Linked DNA regions of Homo sapiens: region 2 is linked to region 1. Evidence: promoter capture Hi-C in 16 types of primary human blood cells and fetal thymus (Javierre and others, 2016). All regions are on one chromosome and are shown on one strand. The core of a region is centred on a gene start or on the middle of the fragment in contact, and the rest is flanking DNA. Distances in the headings are between cores, read along the strand shown. Region 1 holds the start of MRPL22 (mitochondrial ribosomal protein L22). Region 2 overlaps SPDL1 (spindle apparatus coiled-coil protein 1).

The links. The method cuts DNA at HindIII sites, captures the fragments that hold promoters and counts their contacts. A CHiCAGO score of 5 or more calls a contact.
Region 2: a fragment that was not itself captured here is called in contact with the fragment with the promoter of MRPL22 in region 1 in 1 of 17 cell types (fetal thymus); the score reaches 5.5 in fetal thymus.

Annotation. Positions count from the first base shown.
Region 1 is chr5:154,938,229-154,943,889 of GRCh38, reverse strand. MRPL22 (mitochondrial ribosomal protein L22) reads right to left here and starts at 2,817. Exons shown (of 7, transcript NM_014180.4): 1 at 2,752-2,817; 2 at 2,625-2,673. The coding sequence starts at 2,779. RefSeq lists enhancers at 2,718-2,877, 5,381-5,430, 5,592-5,661. The HindIII fragment of the contact is 1,041 bases long and covers 2,102-3,142 here.
Region 2 is chr5:169,586,983-169,592,643 of GRCh38, reverse strand. It overlaps SPDL1 (spindle apparatus coiled-coil protein 1), which reads right to left. Exons shown (of 12, transcript NM_017785.5): 2 at 4,069-4,250; 3 at 1,420-1,596. The coding sequence starts at 4,227. Among named protein-coding and RNA genes, the nearest start is that of SPDL1, 6.0 kb to the right of the region's middle. The HindIII fragment of the contact is 258 bases long and covers 4,283-4,540 here.

The DNA.
Region 1 (5,661 bases), core at 1,568-4,067:
GAGTTTCAGACCAGCCGGGCAATATAACAGGACTTTGTCTCTACTAAAACTCAAAAAAAAGTCAGGTGTAGTAGTGCACGCCTGTGATCCCAGCTGCTTGGGAGGCTGAGTTGGGAAGATGGCTTGAATCGAGGCTGCAGTGAGCTATGATCATGATACCGCACTCCAGCCTGGGTGACACAGCAAAACGCTGTCTTTAAAAAAAAAAAAATTTTAATATCTATATATATATGTGTGTGTATATACATGTATGTATGTGTATATATGTATATATATGTGTATATATGTATATATGTGCATATATGTGTGTATATATATATATATCCTGCAGAAATGTTTTATTTGGTCAGCAGCAGTTTTCTTAACCTAATTCAATGTTTTTAGATGAGGAATACACTCTACTGACCACCACAGGCCCTCCCACTCTCATTTTACATAGACAACTTCCCTTAGTTTATTTATTTCTAGTCTGGGGCCTATATGCAATTAAGTTTCCTGGCGGCTCATGCCTGTAATCCCTCCAGGCCAAGGCAGGAGGATCACTTGAGCCCAGGAGTTAGAGACCAGCCTGAGCAACACAGCAAGACCCTAAAAATTAGCCAGGTGTGATGGCATGCACCTGTAGTTCTAGCTACTTAGGAAGCTGAGGTGGGAGCCCGGGAGTTTGAGGCTGCAGTGAGCTATGATCACAGCACTGCACTTCAGCCTAGGCACAGAGCGAGACCGTGTCTCCAAAAAAAAAAGGAAAAAAAAGTTTCTCATCACTGAATCAGATTATATGCTAAAATTTTACATGGTTATCATGAACATTATTTATACCTTTCTACTTAGTTTTCTTATGGTCATTTTCCCCACTAGAAAATCCAAAATAAGGATTCACAAAATTATGTAATAACTTCAGAATTGCAAATAGCCTTAGAGATTATCTAGCAAAATCAAACACTCTTGTATCATGACATAGAGGAAAAGACTAAAGGCAAACTGCTTAAGTTTCTTGCTCAGAGCTTCTTAATACAAGTTGGTGCAAGACAATTCAAATCAACATCAAAATACTTGCCTGTGTAAGACCTTATGCTGGAGGTACAACAATAAATAAATGTCCCTACTTCTCCAAGATACACAAGCTAGTAAAGGGCACATACACATATACATGAAGTCATCATAGAAGGCACACATGCTAAAAGGAAGGAAAAACTAATTTCTTTCCGTTTTAGAGAAACCAGTGAAAACTTCCTGAAGGGAAAACATCTGAACAGAGGTTTGAATAATGGGTAGGACTGCTGTTATAGACAAGATGTGAGGGCATAGTAGGAAAAGCCAAGAAGCAAGTAAGTGCAAAGTATATTCAGAAAAAGTAAGTAAATCAGCATGGTTGGGGGAAGAGTGATAGAAGATTATCTAAGAAGAGTACAGACAAATCCTAAGAGCTACTACTTCCTATTTTCTTCTTTAGCCCACCTCTTTATCCCCCTCGGACCCAAAAACTTAGAAAAGGGTTAAATATAATTGGGAACTCAGTAATAATTTATAATAATAAAAACATTAATGGCAACTAGAATTCAGAGTGGGATTATCACATGCCATAAACATACTAAATACTTCATATGCATTATCTTGTTTGAATTTCCTTTTTAAAATCTACTAGAGCTACATAGATGGCATGTGCCTGTAATCCCAGTACTTCAGGAGGCTGAGGCAAGAGAATTGTTTCAGCCCTTAAGTTTGAGACCAGCATGGGCAACATAGCAACACTTCATCTAAAAAAATAAATAAATAAAAATTAAAAAATTTTTTAAATCCTAAGAGATAGGTACTAACATAACGCTCATATCATAAAAGTGATAACTGAAGCTTATTAAGAATAAGTAACTTTTCCAAGATCACAGTTAAAAAATGGATTCATATACAACTCATCTGTCTGCAAAGCCTATGAACTAAACCAAAATCAATGCTAACAAATGGACAGACCAGAAAATTTACAATCAGATTATCAATTTTCAAATACCGATTTTTTATTTTGGGGAGAAATACAGCGACTACTTACCCTAACCTTTAATGAATGCTTTTGTCCTAAGGCTACAGAATGCTCTGGTATAAAGCTTCAAAATTTCCTACAACTGAGTGGCCTTAGGCAAGTTATTTTACGTTTGGGGACTTCAATTTCCTTGTCTGAAAAACGGGTATAGCAGAACCTACTCGTAGAATGTTATGAGAGTGAGTTAAAGCATATAAACCGCTAAACACAATGTCAGGTACGACGTAAAGCAGAGTTGTCCACAACACGGTCCCTGCCCATGTAAGCAAGTAATCAGAGAGGTAACTTGAAAAGTTGGACGCTTCCATATGGAGATGGAATAGTCTAACCTTGTCCAGAAAGATCACAGTAGACGTTCGGAAATCGCATTTACAATCGCCCTTGGGTTATGGGTAATCCTGATCCCTGTACAGTTTATGCAATAAGGTGGAGAAAAAATAGAGTGACAAAGCAGAGACTCGGGCTGTCTCATTCGCCTCAGTAACCCCAGAGCCTAAAACACAGTTAGGCACGGAGGCGCTCAGTTACCAACTGGCAGAATACTAAAGATGCCTTGGGCCCTTCCGAAACTCCGAAGCGAGAGACTCACCCCAAGGCCAGCTTCCCCCGGCTCCTCAGGTTATGTATCCATAACGCACCTGCAACATCAACACAAGCCGTCAACTCAGATTCCATCTCGACTCCCTTCTGTCGCTTAACCACTAAGAAATCCTTACCCAACTGTCCCAGTACTGCCGCCGCCATCTTTCGCCCTCCCGCTACGGAAGCCGCCGAGTTCAAGCGCCTTCTGGACAGCACGCATGCGCAATACTCTGGATTTCCTGTGGGGCTCTCCCACAAGCAGTACTTACACCCCAGGTGCCGTCACGAAGATCGCAAGCACTGGGCCGGCGCTCGAGGTGTGGTCAGGCGAACCTGGCTTGGGAATGAATTAATTAATAAAGGCCGAAAGCACGTGGGCTTCCGAAAATTCACCTGGATTCAGAAAAACTAAAGTCCCAACTCACAAACTAGAAAGGAGTAGGGGAACAGAATCCGTGAACAAGCCACCTAATCCGGTGGTCCTCAGTTTTCTTATCAGAAATGACTAACCTTAGGGCACAAGCTTGTTGTAAAGATCAGTTGAAATAGTGTGAAAGCTATTTTATTTCATTTTATTGAAACAGGGTCTCTCTCTCGCTTAGGCTGGAGTGTGGTAGCAATGACCTAGTCTCACTGCAGCCTCGACCCCGGGCTCAAGCCACCCTCTTACCTCAGCCTCCCAAGTAGCTGTGACTACAGGCGCACATCACCACGCCCGGCTAATTTTTGTATTTTTTATAGATAAGGAGTTTCCCCAAATTGCCCAGGCTGATCTCGAATTCCTGGGCTCAAGCAATCTGCCCTCCTCGGCCTCCCAAAGTGCTAGGATTAGAGGTATGAGCCACGAAACCTAGCCTAAAATCTCTTTTAAAGAGCAAATAGTTCAAATATGATGTATGCTGTCCTAATCCCTACTAATCTGGTTGACCTTCAAGAATGAGTTTATATTCATCTGGCATTTACTGCCTTATGTCAGGCAGGTATTTCACTAAATCTCATTTATTCCTCACAGCAATCCAACAAGGCATGGATTATCATTTTCCTTCTTCAAATGAGGAAACATATTTAGGATATGTTAAAGTCTCTCAACTAACAACTGGCAAACCAGTGATCAATCTACGACTAGGTGCCTCCAAATTTGTGCCCCTAGACGCCTTCAAATATATGTATTTGACCCCTCTGTATTAGAATAACAGGTAGTTCAGATTGCGGTTTGCTACCTATGCAGGAATGTCAGATACCCAATGCAAACAAGCAACACACGAGTAGTGCAGAATCTGAGCATTTTAGCATTTTTGAGTTGAAAGGAAACTTTCTTCCACACCATTTACCACATACAGCTTCCTTCACACAGCTGGCCCTCAATCAAGCAAATCAAGAGTCACTCCATTTGCTTCTCCTTCATCTTTGAGTACCCAGAACCCAGAGCCAGAATTTCCACCCAGTTGCAGAAACTGTTCTTTCCCTTTTTAATTCCAGATTCGTACTTTCATATTTTTGTTTGTTTTGTTTTTTTGAGACAGGGTCTCACTCTATTGCCCAGGCTTGAGTGCAGTGGCTCGATCACAGCTCACACCAGCCTGTCTCCCGGACTCCATATTGTAATGCCCAACCTTGTTTTTACTAACCCTGTTTTTAGACTCTCCCTTTTTCCTCTGATCACCTAGCCTTGTTTCCACTTGAATTGACTCTTGCTTAGCTAAGAGAGCCAGACAGACTCCATCTTGGCTCTTTCACTGGCAGCCCCTTCCTCAAGAACTTAACTTGTGCAAGCTGACTCCCAGCACATCCAAGATGCAATTAACTGATAAGATACTGTGGCGAGCAATATCCGCAATTCCCAGGAATTCGTCTGATTGATAGCACCCAAAGCCCCCAGTCTATCACCTTGTAATAAATAGTCTTAAAGCCCCTGCACCTGGAACTGTTTACTTTCCTGTAACCATTTATCCTTTTAACTTTTTGCCTACTTTATTTCTGTAAAATTGTTTTAACTAGACTCCCCTCCCCTTTCTAAACCAAAGTATAAAAGAAAATCTAGCCTCTTCTTCCGGCTGAGAGAACTTTGAGCGTTAGCCATCTCTTGGCCACCGGCTAAACAAATGGACTCTTAATTCGTCTCAAAGTGTGGCGTTTTCTCTAACTCACTCAGGTACAACAATATTTTTGTTAAGTGGCCTCTTGTGCATATCTTTTTTTGTTTTGTTTTGTTTTTATTTGAGATGGAGTCTCGCAATGTCGCCCAGGCTGGAGTGCAGTGGCGCAATCTCTGCTCACTGCAACTTCCGCCTCCCAGGTTCAAGCGATTCTCCTGCCTCAGCCTCCCTAGTATTTGTTGTCTAGGGATTGTTGCATTTTACTTTTTTTTTTTTTTTGAGATGGAGTCTCGCTGTGTGGCCAGGCTAGAGTGCAGTGGCGTGATCTCCGCTCACAGCAACTTCCGCCTCCCGGGTTCAAGCGATTCTCCTGCCTCAGCCTCCCGAGCAGCTGGGATTACAGGCGCCTGCCACCACACCCGGCTTATTTTATTATTTTATTTTATTTTTGTTTTTTAATAGAGACGAGGTTTCACTATGCTGACCAGGCCGGTCTTTTAACTCCTGACCTCGTGATCCTCCCGCCTCGGCCTCCCAAAGTGCTGGGATTACAGGCGTGAGCCACCGCACCCGGCCTCTTGTGCATATCTTTAAAACACCTCCACAACTAGCAAAGTGCCCTGGCACATAGCGCTCAAAAAACGTTGGACGGGATAGTGGTTGAACAGCTCCAAATAATAAACTGGTAGCCTGGGGCGGTGGTTCCACTAGTCTAATCCTCTAATTTTGTGCCTTTCTGTGGGAAGTGAGAATGCTTAACCTCGGGGCTGTGCTCAGGCAGCACCTGACCCTAGCCAGGGTTGGGGCGGACCTCCTACCGCGGGCTAGGTACTGAGGGCCAGTGCAGCACGCGTGGTCCCGCCCTTCCCAGCCCGGCGGTAGCGGGAACGCAACGCGCGGTGCTGGCTGGGCCTCGACGCGCACCGTAGCGACTGCCCGAGAAGGCGG
Region 2 (5,661 bases), core at 3,162-5,661, about 15 Mb before region 1:
AAGCTGGATGATATTATCTGTCAGAGTGGTATGCAAGATGATTATATATTACATGAAGGTATATTTAGATAGCTATGTTTGTTTTAGTGTATACTGGGAAAAAATAAGCAAGCTTAAATATGTAATTTTGGCCAGGCGCAGTGGCTCAGGCCTGTAATCCCAGCACTTTGCGAGGCTGAAGTGGGCGGATCACGAGGTCAGGAGTTAGAGACCAGCCTGACCAACATGGTGAAACCCTGTCTCTATTAAAATACAAAAATTAGCTGGGCGTGGTGGCGCACACCTGTAATCCCAGCCACTTAGGAGCCTGAGGCAGGAGAATCGTTTGAACCCGGGAGGCAGAGGTTGCAGGTGAGCCGAGATCATGCCACTGCACTCCAGCCTGGGCGACAGTGTGAGACTCTGCCTCAAAAAAAAAAAAAAAAAAAAGGAAAAAAAAATACTTTCATTGATGTTTCTTAAAATCAGTAAACATTAAAAGAGAGTCAATGAGAAATTAAGTAATAGTATAGGTGGTATACAGAAAAAGAAAAATCTTAGAGGCTGCTATACAAGAAGCTGAAAATTGGGTAACAGACTTCTGAGAAAGGAGGACAAAAGTCAGGCAAGTTTTGGTAGACAGTGTCTGGAAAAGTCAGAGTATAGACTATACACAAAGCAGATCCATGATAAAAAGTTCTGGATTCCTCAGAAGCAACCTGAAAGCACTGGCTAGCTGGGAAAAGGGAAAACCACTGACCAATCATTTATCTTGCGTTTATGTTTGAAATGGAGCCAGTGTAACATGCTGTTAGACTATGTAGTGATTCAGTAACACAGCCTTTGGAGTCAGACAGCCTCAGTTCAAACCTAGATGGAGAATTTCTAGTTCTTGAATTGTGTCCAATTTACTCAGTCTGTCTAAACACTGGCTCTTTCATCTGGTATATGGAAATGATAATGGTACCTTTCCACAATATTATTGTAAGAACTGGAGCACATGTATTAGTTTATCCTCAGTAAACAAACTATAAAGTGTCATTTGTAATGCACATTAACTAGTAAGAAACTACTGGTCTGTTTTACAGAATTACAAAGCATACCACTGACTGCAGGGAAGGCTAGGAGACGAGGCTTTCTGCAAGGGGCTGCTGTACCCACTATCAGCAAGGAGGCCATGCTAGTCACTAAACTAAACCTTCACAAATATCCAGCAACCAAAATTAAATAATTGTATTTAATTAATAGGATATAATTTATACAAGTCCCTTAGACAAACTCTTGTATCTCAGTGTTCCCACCCCCAATATTAAGATAATGAAGACTTAGATCTTGGCTATTTTGCAAAGCTGACACTTAAGAAAATCTTTATCATCTAAAGTTTACAGATGGCTGCATAAATATGGAATATTTTGTGCTGAAATACGCAGATATCCCAACCTTAGTTTTTAGTTCATTCACTTCCTGTCCATGGCTTCTGCTTAGTTGTTCTTCCAATTTCTCCAGGTGCATTTTTTGTTGTTGTTTAATAGCTTCACATTCGCAGCTCAAACTTTCTAACATTCGACTCTTGAGTTCAACTTCTCTTTGAAGGGTATATTTTTCTTGTTCATAACTCTGAAAACAGATTCAATTACAATTCAATTACATAAAAATAGCCTAAAGCCATTACATACAATCAGTTTTCAACTTCAATTGTTTCATTCTTATTTCAAGCATTTGCTGCTTTCCAAATAACGAAGACATGTTAAACCTGGAATAACTTTGTAGTTAATCAGTCTTAATAAACCCCTGAGGTGTATTTCGAAACTATGTTAAACCCATGCAAGGGATACCTTACTGCTTCTGTGCCTTGTCAAGGAAGTAAAATGTGCTCCATGGTATGTCAACACGTCAAGTCAAGTAATCTCTGCTAACAACAAAAAAAGATTTAACAGCACTTAAGCTTTCCTCATGAGAATTATTAGTTTGATAATGAGATGCTCTACTTGTAGCTCTGAACACAATGTAGTAGTAATAATAGTTGAAAAAAAAGAAATACTGAATTAGCCTTTACTTTCAGAATGTAGTCATCTGAGAAATGTCACAAAAGGTCTATCAGAATGAATGCAGAGCTGAGACAAAAGGAGTAATTAAAAGGGCTTTTGCTTACTCACAGGGAAGTTTAGACATTAAAAATGTTACAAGTACGAACTCCTTCAAGAGGCTTTAAAAAATGATAAAATATTCCCCTCAAAAACCATTTTATTTTAAAGGAAGACAAAGAGTATTAACTGTTAAACACTGAAATTTGACAAGTTATGACTCAAAATGATTAAGTATAACAGTTTTATTTTCTATTAGTGATATTTGTAATCTTTACTTTGCCTTTATGACTTTGCACTCAGTTCTTGGTTTACAACAGTACTATGTAGAAACACAAAGGTTGCCATCACTAGTTATTTTTACCTGCTACAGATATTTTTTACCTGCCATATTTACAATGTTGAGATTCAAGTTTAAATATGTTACTGAGCATTTGCTAAATTACCCAGATTTATTCATTCATTCTTTTAAGAAATAATCGTGTGGCAGGCATTCAGGATAGTGAACAAGGCATACAAAATTCCCTCTCTCATGGAGTTTATAATCTAGAGATAATTAGCAATGCAGATAATTAAGAGTGGAATCAGGGCCGGGCACAACGGCTCATGCCTGTAATCCCAGCACTTCGGCAGGCAGATTACGTGAAGCCAGGAGTTCAAGACCAGCCTGGTCAACATGGTGAAACCCCATCTCTACTAAAAACACAAAAATTAGCCGGATGTGGTGGCACACATCTGTAACCCCGAGCTACTCGGAAGGCTGAGGTAGGAGAATCTCTTGAACCCAGGAGGTGGAGGATGCAGTGAGCCAAGATTGCGCCACTGCACTCCAGCCTGGGCGACAGAGTGAGACCCTGTTTCAAAAAAAAAAAAGAAAAAAGAAAAAAAAAGTGAATCAGGGCAACTTTACATTACATAGTAAGGGCTGACCTCTCCGCTGAAGTGACATTTAAATGAAAGCTGAAATCTGAGGACTCAACCCAAGAGCAGTGAGGGGTAAACAACTCAAAAAAAAAAAAAAGGCAATAGCTGGTGTAAAGCCCATAAGGGAGGACCAGTATAGTCAAGAACAAGGCAAAGCAGTTTGAGGTGAGGTCAGAAGCTTGGCAGGGGTCAGGTCACATAGGGATCTACAAACCCAAGGATGGAGCTCAGATTTTGTTGTAAATAAAATCAGAAGCTGTTGTATGGTTTTTAGCAGGGCTGTGGCATGACCTTTGGTGTGTTATTCCACGACCACTTAGACGCTGAGTGAAGAATGAATGGCATGAATGGCAACAATGGAAGCAGGCAACCCGGCCAGAAGGCTACAATACTTGTCTAGGAGTGATGATGGTGATCTGGACTACAGTGCCAGTAGCAAAGATACATGCTTTGTAGTCTAGTTCTTAGAACTTATTAATGAGTGAAATGTGAGAAATAAAGGGAAGATATTGACTAAAAGTTCTAGATTTTTGGTATATAAAGAAACCAAAAATATACCAAAAATCTTTGGTATATAAAGATTTTTGGTGTTCAAGAAACTGAATGCTATTATATTTACTAAATAAGCTAAAAAAAATCGTAAAAGAATATTTGGTTAACGGACAGGGAATCCACTCTTCTGTCTGTGTTAAGTTTGAGAAGTCTATTAGTGGGCAGTTGAACACAAACCTAGATTTCATGGGGGAACTAAGGGCTTGGTGTAGTGTCATGGGGCACTTAGATGTTTAGAGGTCTAAAACAAGTGAGGTCTTCTAGGAAGTGTGCAGACAAAGCAAAATCTGGTAGTAAATGTGGCAAAGAGAGTAATGATAACTTGATCTTTCAAACTCTGAATACACTAGGGTGGAAAGAATAACAGGAATTCATTTAGTTCATTCTTTTTTAACAGGGACGGGGCAGGGCGGGAACTAGATCTAAAATCTTCAGAAAAGAATAAACTACTACTACTATTAATTGCTAAACAGGACAAATCTTCAATAGCTAAGCACACTCTTGCAGACAGAGGAGTCCAGAGTCCTACCTCAGTCATGGTCATCATTTCATTACGACATTTATCCAATTGATTCTGTAATTCATTTTGACTCTCTACTAGTTGTAAACCATACTGTGCAGCTTTTAGTCGCTCTTCTTCAGCCTCTTTGAGCCTGCATCGAAGATTTGTGATTATATCTGCCTCCATGTTCTTTTCTTTTTTTTAGCCAACTGTAAATAGAGGAAATAAAACTACTTAAGCTTATACAAAAAACTCCATGCAATAATATCAATAACAGAAGAAACATATCTACTCAATACTACTGTCGTATAAAAACATTAAAATTTTCTTCCTGACTAATAAGTAGTCAAATTTGCATTCTTGTTCCAAGAGCAAGAACTGTTCTGACAATTCTGTTACTGATTTGGGATCAAAAATTAAAGAGTGGAATAGAATACATTTAATTTTGCTTCTAAACAGTTCACCATCAGAAAACTGTTCAGTTGTTGTATGCTAAGCTTCCAATATGTTAAGGTAAGTTTGGTCTCATAATTGGACCACTATCCATATAATCAAAATTAAGGGAATAACAAAAAAGTAATCAAGAAACCTCATAGTAGCAGGTATGGTGGCTCATGCTTGTAATCCCAGCAACTGGGGAGGATTACTTGAGGCCAGGAATTCGAGACCAGCCTGAACAACATAGCAAGACTCCATCTCAATCAATCAATCAATAGAAATAAGGTGGGGATGGTGGCAAGCCCCCGTAGTCCTAGCTACTTGGGAGGCTAAGGAAGGAAAATTGATGGAGTTAGAGGCTTCAGTGAGTTATGATCATGGCACTGACAGAGCAAGACACTGTCTTGAGAAATAATAATGATAATAACAATAATACCACCAGAAAAGGAAGGTCTGGGTACTATAAACACATAAAATATAAAAAGGCAGCTGTGAATAAGGCTCATAAGGTAAAGTAAGAAATATCATGTCTGTAATTTTTCACAACAGTGTTAACTTCCTGAATATATTAAATCTGCTTTCCTGGAAAGAGATTCACTAGTATTTTTCTAGTTATTCATAAAAGTATGCAAAAATAGAAACCATATCCATAAGAATTAAAGGATGTTGCTTTCATTCTAGATTTATAAACAAAGACTTAAACATTATATATAGAAACATTCCACTTTAATCAACCTTACTAATTATCCTTTACTATTTGGTCCCAGCCTCCTAAGCGAGACTCAAACTCACCTTTGCCTTCAAAGGGCACCAGGTCATTGCAAGATGTTCCCCCATGTCTCAAGTCAATGTAGTCATTCACTGAACGAGTATTTCTTGAATGCCTTATATACTAGGTTCCATTCTGGGCAGTTCAGATTCATTAGGGAACAAAATGGACGAAAAAAAAGCTCCTCCCTCATGAAACTTACATTCCAGGAGGGGAAGATAAACAGTAAGTAACAGAATATTAATAAATTAGAAAGGGGAGATGAGAAAAAATAGAACAGAATAAGAATCTGGGAAGAAGGGACAGGTGATGTAACCAGGAGGCAGAAGATGAGAGAATCAGCCAGGCAGCTATTTAGAAGAAGAATGTTCCAGCAAGAGGGGAATCCTTAAGGCAGGAAGAAGCCCAGGGAG